Regions from separate parts of the Homo sapiens genome. Here all the other regions are linked to region 3. Evidence: promoter capture Hi-C in human tissues and cell types (Jung and others, 2019). All regions are on one chromosome and are shown on one strand. Each heading gives the region's core, a stretch centred on a gene start or on the middle of the fragment in contact. The rest is flanking DNA. Distances are from core to core; before and after follow the strand shown.

Region 1 (2,700 bases), core at 65-2,564, 300 kb after region 3:
ATGAGTTTTATATATTTTATTGTTAGAGTAGGTAGCTAGTCAGACATGAGCACCGCAGGAGAGGGAGCCCCCCTACCCCCCACCAGAAATGTCAGGTGACCATCAAGTGATGGTGAAGTGGTTGTTACCTGTCTCTCTAAGATAATTGGCCACAGCCAACACCAGGAAAAGGCAGTCTCCCAATTAACACAAAAAACCTGAAACTAGGGATCAGCAGCTTCCTGATAAGATCTTAGGAGTTAGGCAAGTGGGCTCAAGCACACACATTAAGAGGCAAAATGGTAGAGTTTAACTGGTGTATGGCCTTCTAGTGATATTCAGCTGGTAAGGGAAGAACGCCTCAAATGAGCATGCATATAGTTTCACTAAAAACACTGTGCATGCTCCTCTCCCAAGTGCTGGCAGGACACTGTGCATGTGGACAGCCCACCCAAAGGGAAGAATCAGGGGAGAAGGGACACATGACCCCAGATGAATGCCAACATATAAAACCCCAAGTCAAAGGTCATACAGGGCCCTTGACTCTCTCAACTCACCTGCTCAGCCCTCTTTCAAGTATACTTTCGTTCCTGTTCTAAACTTTTTAATAAACTTTCACTCCTACTCTAAAACTTGCCTCAGTCTCTCCTTCTACCTTATGCCCCTCAGTCAAATTCTTTCTTCTGAGGAGCAAGAATTGAGGTTGCTGCAGACCTGTATGGATTCACTGCCAATAACATCGTTGGTAAATTCTTCTTACTACCTGTGATTAACCATTTTCTGTTGCTGAGGCTCTGACACCTCACCTGGAACCAGTGACACAGCCTCAGGAGGTCCTGACACGTGCTCAGGGTGATTGGGCTACCGCTTGGTTTTATACATTTTAGGGAGATATGAGACATCAATTAATACATGTAAGATGTATATTGGTTGAGTCCAGAAAGGCAGGACAACTCGAAGCAAGGGCTTCCAGGTCATAGGTGGATTCAAGAATTTTCTAATTGGCAATTGGTTTAAAGAGTTAAGTTATTGACTAAAATCAATAGGAAGGAATGTCTGGGTTGAGATAAGAGTTTATGGACAGCGAGGTTCCCATTATGCAGATAGAATCCGTGGAAGGGAATATTTCTTACCAGTCTTAAAGAGTCTGTTCTATCAGTCTTAAGGCCTCTGTTTTCATGTTAATGTTGGTCAACTGTGCTTGAATTCCAAAGGGAGAAGGGTATAATGAGGCATGTCAGACCCTCATTTCCCATCATGGCCTGAACTAGTTTTTCAAATTAACTTTAGAATGCCTTTGGCTGTGAGGAGGAGTCTGTTCAGTTGGTTGGGAGGCTTAGAATTTTGCTTTTGGTTTACTTCTAATAAAGTTTTTGGATTTTTTATAATTTAGTTGAGGTGTAATTGAATTGAAATACAATAAGCTGCATATATTTAAAGTATATAATTTAATTTGCTGTGACATCTGTATATGTCTGTGTAACCCTCACCTTAATAAGGATAACAAGAATTTCCATAACTCTGAAAAGTTTCCTTGTGCCCCTTGCAACTCATCCCTTCTTCTGCCTTGTCCCAAGGCAATCACTAACTTGCTTTCAGTCATTACCACTTTCTTCACAAGAATTTGTAAGTGGACTCACACAATTTGTAGAAGGTATAAGAATGGTGAATAAGCAGATGAAAATTTCAATGTTTGTAGTCATCAGGGAAATGAAAACTAAAACTACAATGAGAGTAATATATGCTTATTTGAATTAATAAAATGTAAAAGGTTGATGACCAAACCATGTGTTGGCAGGGTGAAGCAACTGAAATTTTCATACATGGGTGTGGGAATGTAAAATGGTACAGCCGCTTTGGGAAACAGTTTGACCATTTCTTCAAAAGTTAGATACACCTGTCATATGACCCAGTCACTCCACTCCAGAGCATTTACTCAAGATAAGTGAAAACATGTCACGCCAATACTTTTACATGGATATTCATAGCAGCTTTATTTGTAATAGCCCCAAACTTGAAACAACTCAAATGTCAATCAGTATGTGCATGGATAAATAAATTATGGCATATCAATACAATGGAATATTGCACAGTAATAAAAAGAATGAACTATTGACACATGCCAGCAACAGGGCTGAATCCCAAAGTGTGTACATTTTTAAAGCTTTCCTGCCTTTAAATCAGAGGTTTTCAGTGAGGGAGAGTGAAGAGGCAAAAAAGGAAGAAGGGAGATCTGGCTTATTGTAATCATGTAAAGACTTTTTCCCTAAATGTACACACAAGATTGATTCCATGGAGTATATCAGGCAGAGAAAAACAGAAAGAATGCTAATATATTTGCAACTTCTTTCCTTGTCTCCCTTCCTCCATGGAAATGTCAAACATGGGAAAAGGAGAACTAGATATATTTAACTTTCTTGGCAAGTCTTTTGTCAAACTACACAGCTTTCAGCTTTTCTTAGGCCAAATGAATCCTAGATATTGACAGCATGAAAATATCCATGATTTTTAAGTATTTCTCCAAAATAGGAGAGACCCATGATGAATAATAGATAGGAAACCCTATTGAGCAAATAGATTTACTAGAATTTCCAGGCCCACATAGACCAAGCAAACCTGAGAGCCACAGTCCATTTTCTTTTAAGTAATATTACTTTGTAGTTGTTCTAGGAAGTAATATTACCCAAAAGAAAAAAGAAGAAACATCATGAGTTAATGCAA
Region 2 (2,700 bases), core at 81-2,580, 470 kb after region 3:
ACTATTTCATCTGAAATGGGGAATAAATACTAGTCTTGATTTTATCTTGGTCTCCTGGGAAGACCTTTAATTTCTATTAGCCCCATCCTTTTAAGAGCTGTTTGGGCAATAGGTACATCTAAGCAGATGCATAGACAAAGAATTACAGTGCAGAAAGGTATGAGCTGTGATAAGCTTAATATACAGGGATAAGAGCATTCCTTACAGACCTTTGCTATTGCCTAGAGTTGGAGCATCTTGCCGGCATATAAACTCCATAAAGGTAATGGAGCTATTCCATTTGTAACTACTTGTGTTAGTAACAGCAATGTCCCAGTACCTGACTCATACATAATAAGCACTCAATAGAGAGATTTTATTCATTTATTTAAAATATTGTCTAAATATTTCCTAAATCAAAATATTCATCTTCTACTAAGGACTATGACTAAAATTTTAAGAATTTTGAATCACGTAAATAACTTAGATACATTTCTTTCTTATGTTTAGCACTTTTTCTAAAAATATCCAAATTGATGTAGAGCTCTACTGTAACATAATACGTAGATCTGTGCAACTTTTTTTTTTGTATTAAATTCTCAGGTAGGTAGTTTAATGGAATGTTACTACTGCTGTTCTTCCCAGCATGTCTGGCTGGGTTTGTTTATTTTTACAATATAGGACAGATCCTCTACTCACAAAATGAATTATGGGATTTAATAGAGAAATATTCTATAATTTACAAGACGCTAAATATATAAACTCACAGATGCTGAGAATGTCTCAGTGAATCAATTCATGAAGCTCATTCATTTCACCTAATGCCTCTCAATGATGTCCTAGTCCTTTTCCCCAGTCTGCATGCAAAACTTAGATGTGCTTGCTACTGTGCTCAGTCTCTTAGATGTCTTTGCCGCATGTACTGAGTTTTGGATGAAGCCAGAGAGAAACATTTAGCTCAGTCCATTTCACTCTGGGTCCGAGGGTCATCTTGGAGATTTGCTAATCTTTCCTCCAGGAAAGGGTTGTGATTTCTCCACTTTTCACTTCATGAACAACCACAGCATGCACAGTACTGTTCTTTGCTAGCCTAGTCACGTATCCCCTCAAAACCCTCTCTGAAATTGGGGGATGGTTACCAGCTGGTGGTAAAAGTACAGGCATCACCCATTTTCTTTCTCCATCCCTTAGTTCCTTTCTGACCTAGACAGCTGCTTGAATGTTCCTTCCCCTTCAGTCTTCCAATCTTTGTGTATTTTATCCTTGTACTGCAGCTCTGTTATAATCATTCAACAAAATTCTATATGGTTTACCAGCTGAAGTTGGGAAACACAGGATTAAACAAAGTGAAAAATAAATCCTATTATTAAGAGGCAAACAGGATGCTTACTATAATTCCTCCCATTATCTTCTCCACTCCATTAATATTCCTCTTGAGTATTAAAGGTAGCATTTTGTTCTGTCAACTCTCCCATGCAAAACTTCTGTACATAGTAACAGCAAGAGAGTTTCTGAAGCTGAAATCCTGTAGAATAAATAAAAGCAACTGAAACAATCTGAATGGTCCTTTGAAAAAAAGAAGAAAAAGAAAAGCACTTAATTATTTACCATGGCAAAGCAACAGCTATGAAGCTTGCCTTTTCTTTTTTTCTGAGGCTTAGGGCTGGACGTCTACTTTCAGCTGCTCTGCCAAAGTTTACATTTTTTTCATAGCAAAAGCTACAAATAGGAGAAGTGGGGATAGTTTTTAGCACACTCTAAAACTAAGATCTACTGATTTTTTACAAATAAGGACATGGAGGCTTGTAGAAGTTAGTGACCTTTTATGCCTTTGTCTAGCCATATTGCTTTCCTCAGTTTCCATTTCTGCAGATTTTCTAGGTTCCCATTCCCCATCCCCCACTTTCTAAGTGATATTATCAATTTTCATGACTTCACCTGTAATCTGAATGTTGAGGAGACCCCAATCTACATCTTAGGGCTCCAATCACTCTTCTCAACTTCAGACCCATGTATCTCCATGCCAGTAGGTCAAGTTCTCAAGCTGAAAGTATCTAAACTCTTTTTGTTGTTGTTGTTGTTGTCATTGTTGAGACTGAGTCTCACTCTGTCGCCCAGGCTGGAGTACGGTGGTGCAATTTCGGCTCACTGCAACCTCCTCCTCCCAGGTTCAAGCGATTCTCCTGCCTCATCCTCCCGAGTGCTGGGACTACAGGTGCCTGCTGCCTCGCCCAGCTAATTTTCTGTATTTTTGGTAGACATGGGGTTTCACTGTGTTAGCCCGGATGGTCTGCATCTCCTGACCTCGTGATCCGCCCGCCTCGGCCTCTCAAAGTGCTGGGATTACAGGCGTGAGCCATATAACCTTGTTAATGTGTTCTGATTCAAGATGTACATTTTTATGTTCAAAATTAAATTATAATCCCCAAATGAGTGTCTTTTACTAGGCTTGAATTTATCCCAGCATTCAATAATATATATGCATATAACATATCCCCTGCAAATTATTTTAAAATAAAATGGTTAAATTTTAATAGCTATTTATTATCTATGTGGTACCTGCAAAGCACTCTAAAAATAATTATGCAAAGTGCCTAGTATTTAATGAGAAGTAAATTACTGGTTGAGGCATACTCTCTAGTGTTAGACTGCATATGTTTGAAACTTAGATCTCTAACTTTCCAGCTCTGTGACCTCTGGCAAGTTAGTAAACTTCTTTGT
Region 3 (2,700 bases), core at 55-2,554:
TCTCATCAGCCCAGCAGGTGGTGTGACTCCCATAGGAGAACAGGAAAGGACATGTCCCATAAGGAGGCAACTCAGTCTCTGCTAGCTCACAAGCGTGGTCTCAGTGACCTACTCGAAAGCTATTCTGCTTGTATCATCAGTTCAGCCTCACCTTGGAAAACTCAAGCCCAGTTTTCCCAAATGATTTTTAGAGAATAAGATTTCCAGATGAAAACCAGGGAGCATGTTCCAATTTTTAGTACATCAAGGACCATGTTTTTCCTTGCTACCAGCCCCATTTTCTAATCAGTTAACGCTTCCTGTGATATCTGTAGGGGAAAGGTGTAGTGCAACTGACAGGGAGAGATGAGATCTTAAGCCTCTGCTCATTCATTGGGTGCTGAGTAGCAATGCCTCCCGCGGGCCACAGGAACTTATCTCCGCCGATTGTTACAGCTGGAAGGATGGGGAGATAGCACCATAGATCCACTCCTCATTTTATGGGCAAAGAAGCTAAGGCCTGTAAAAATGGCATGCCCAATGGTACAGGAGTTACAAACACGGTCATAAATATTGGCTCCAAATTTGGCATGGAAGCTTATGTGCTGCTCTAGAGGAGATCTGCTACGATGTGGAGATTGGCTTGTGTGGGTGTGTTTTATTGCTCTTGTCATTTAAAAATACTTTTGATTATTTGTCTTCCATTTTTTTTAGGTTACGAGGAAATCCTTCAAAATGCGTTCTTGTGAAAAACGTGAGAGTGCAAGGAAAGAGGGAGGGATAGGAAGAAGGAAAGAGAAGCAAAAGGTAGGAAGAAAGTGACCTTGGTGCCCTTTTCTAGTCCCCTCCCCCGACTTTCCTGTTCTCCACTGTGCCCATCTCTGGTTTCACCAGGCTCCATTCCTTCCCCAGTTCCCTGTTTCTCACGGCCCTGAAACCAGCCGACAGGGATTTGCATTTTGAAAAACCTTGCGTGGCTGCCGGCGCTGGGCATGCTCAAACGCCCAGAACTGGCTTTTTTCGGCAACTTTGGCAGCTCTCCCACCCCCACCCGAAGGGGCAGGTACGCACAGCTCCCTCCGTGTGAGTAAACGGAAAGAAATTACCCCACTCCCGCCCAGGGCAGAAGGCCACAGCCCCGCGGGGCAGTGGCGCGCCCCGGGGACGCTGCCAGGGGGCGCCAGGCCCTCAGTGGTGGCGCGGCGCCGGGGTCCGGGGCCGGGGGGCGCTGTCCGAGGGCACGTGCGCGGGCGCGCGCTCTGGGAGTGGTCGCGGGGTGGTGGGAGGGGCGGGCAGGGGCGGGGCCGCGGCGGCGCGCGGAGGCCGAGCTCGGCTGGGCTTGGCGAGGCTGCGGCGCGGCCACCGGCGGGAGTGCAGCGGCCACTGTACCCAGAGATTCAAAACCCCAAACCCGGGACTTGGGGGCGCTGAGCCGGGCCGGGAAGCAGAGCCTGGTCGTGAGGAACAGCCGCCCGTTGCTGTCTGCCCCTTTGCGGACAGCGTCTCCCTCGACTCCGCTTAGGAAGTGGTGGGGGCGGCGTGGCCCCCGTCGGGAGGCGTTCGAACGCCCGCTAGGAGAGAGAAAGGATTCCCCTGTGCTTGGAGCCCGCACTCGGGCGCGGAGGGAGCGGCGGCAGGCTCTCGCTTTCGGCACCATGGGCTGCACGCTGAGCGCCGAGGACAAGGCGGCGGTGGAGCGGAGTAAGATGATCGACCGCAACCTCCGTGAGGACGGCGAGAAGGCGGCGCGCGAGGTCAAGCTGCTGCTGCTCGGTAAGGGCGGCCGGGTCGGGGCCCGGGGGTCGGCGGGGGACCGGGTGCGGCGCTGCGCGGCCCTCGGCGTTTGGAAACCCGGAGGGAAGGGGGAGGAAGCGCCCGAGGAGGCTTCTGAGCGGGAGCTGGGTCCGGCGGTGCGGAGGCAAGGCGGGTCCCCCTCTCCCGGTGTCTGGTCTCTCTCCGCCCCGGCGGGCGAGGACTCCCCGCGGCGGGGCGGGCGCGTCACTTCACTCGGATGCTTTCGTGCGACCCAGCAAAGAGCCCAGGCGCGAGTCCGAGGCGGCGGGTCGCGTGGAAACCCTTTGCTTTGAAGTTTAGCTCAGCCTTGTAAAGATGAAGGGGCATTCGCGGCTAGAAAATGAAAACACCCCCCCCCCCGCGCCACCAACCCCCTCCCGGAAAACCCTTCTTCGTGTGCGGTGTAGGTTGTGTTTCGACTGTGGTTTTCTCATGCCCAGAGTGCCACGTTTGGTGAAATCAGTGCACCTTTTGTGGGGCCTCTGAGATGGGGCTGAAGCGTCTTTCCTGTTAACTTCCTATGGCGACTCCTTAAGTGGTCAAGGAGCGCTGATTACATTCCCCCTGCGCTGAGAAAAGGCTGCGCTGGATGCTTGATTTTTCTTGCTGTGGGGGCATGGAAGCCACCCAAGTGGGGTTGGGAAGCTTTGCTTTAGTAGTAGGCAAGGCAGATACTCGAGTGGTGAAAACTGCTGTGAAAGAGCGAGAGGGTCACGCCAGACAACAGGGTTCTGTCTCCGCTGCCACCGTTTCTGATGAATGAGATTTGCCAGGTACACGCAAGGCTTTTATTTGTTCTTAGCACTGTTCTGTTCGTGAAACGCTACGTGGAGGTCTTTTCCAAATGTTTGACGGGGAAGAAAATAAAGAGTAAACCAGGGTTTTCACTGAGGGAAGCATTAGGAAAATCTTTACAGGTTAAGATTC

The links. Contacts are between HindIII fragments. The study calls those that stand out against the background at their distance.
Region 1: a contact is called between a fragment that was not itself captured here and the fragment with the promoter of GNAI1 in region 3, in 3 of the 25 tissues and cell types used here (IMR-90 fibroblasts, lymphoblastoid cells and mesendoderm cells).
Region 2: a contact is called between a fragment that was not itself captured here and the fragment with the promoter of GNAI1 in region 3, in 3 of the 25 tissues and cell types used here (IMR-90 fibroblasts, aorta and mesenchymal stem cells).

Annotation. Positions count from the first base shown.
Region 1 is chr7:80,430,676-80,433,375 of GRCh38, forward strand. No RefSeq gene overlaps it. Among named protein-coding and RNA genes, the nearest start is that of GNAT3, 80 kb to the right of the region's middle. The HindIII fragment of the contact is 5,075 bases long and covers 1-2,700 here.
Region 2 is chr7:80,605,720-80,608,419 of GRCh38, forward strand. It overlaps a transcript of CD36 not described here. Among named protein-coding and RNA genes, the nearest start is that of CD36, 32 kb to the right of the region's middle. The HindIII fragment of the contact is 5,690 bases long and covers 1-2,700 here.
Region 3 is chr7:80,133,527-80,136,226 of GRCh38, forward strand. It overlaps GNAI1 (G protein subunit alpha i1), which reads left to right and starts at 1,305. Exons shown (of 8, transcript NM_002069.6): 1 at 1,305-1,752. The coding sequence starts at 1,635. The HindIII fragment of the contact is 3,503 bases long and covers 1-1,497 here.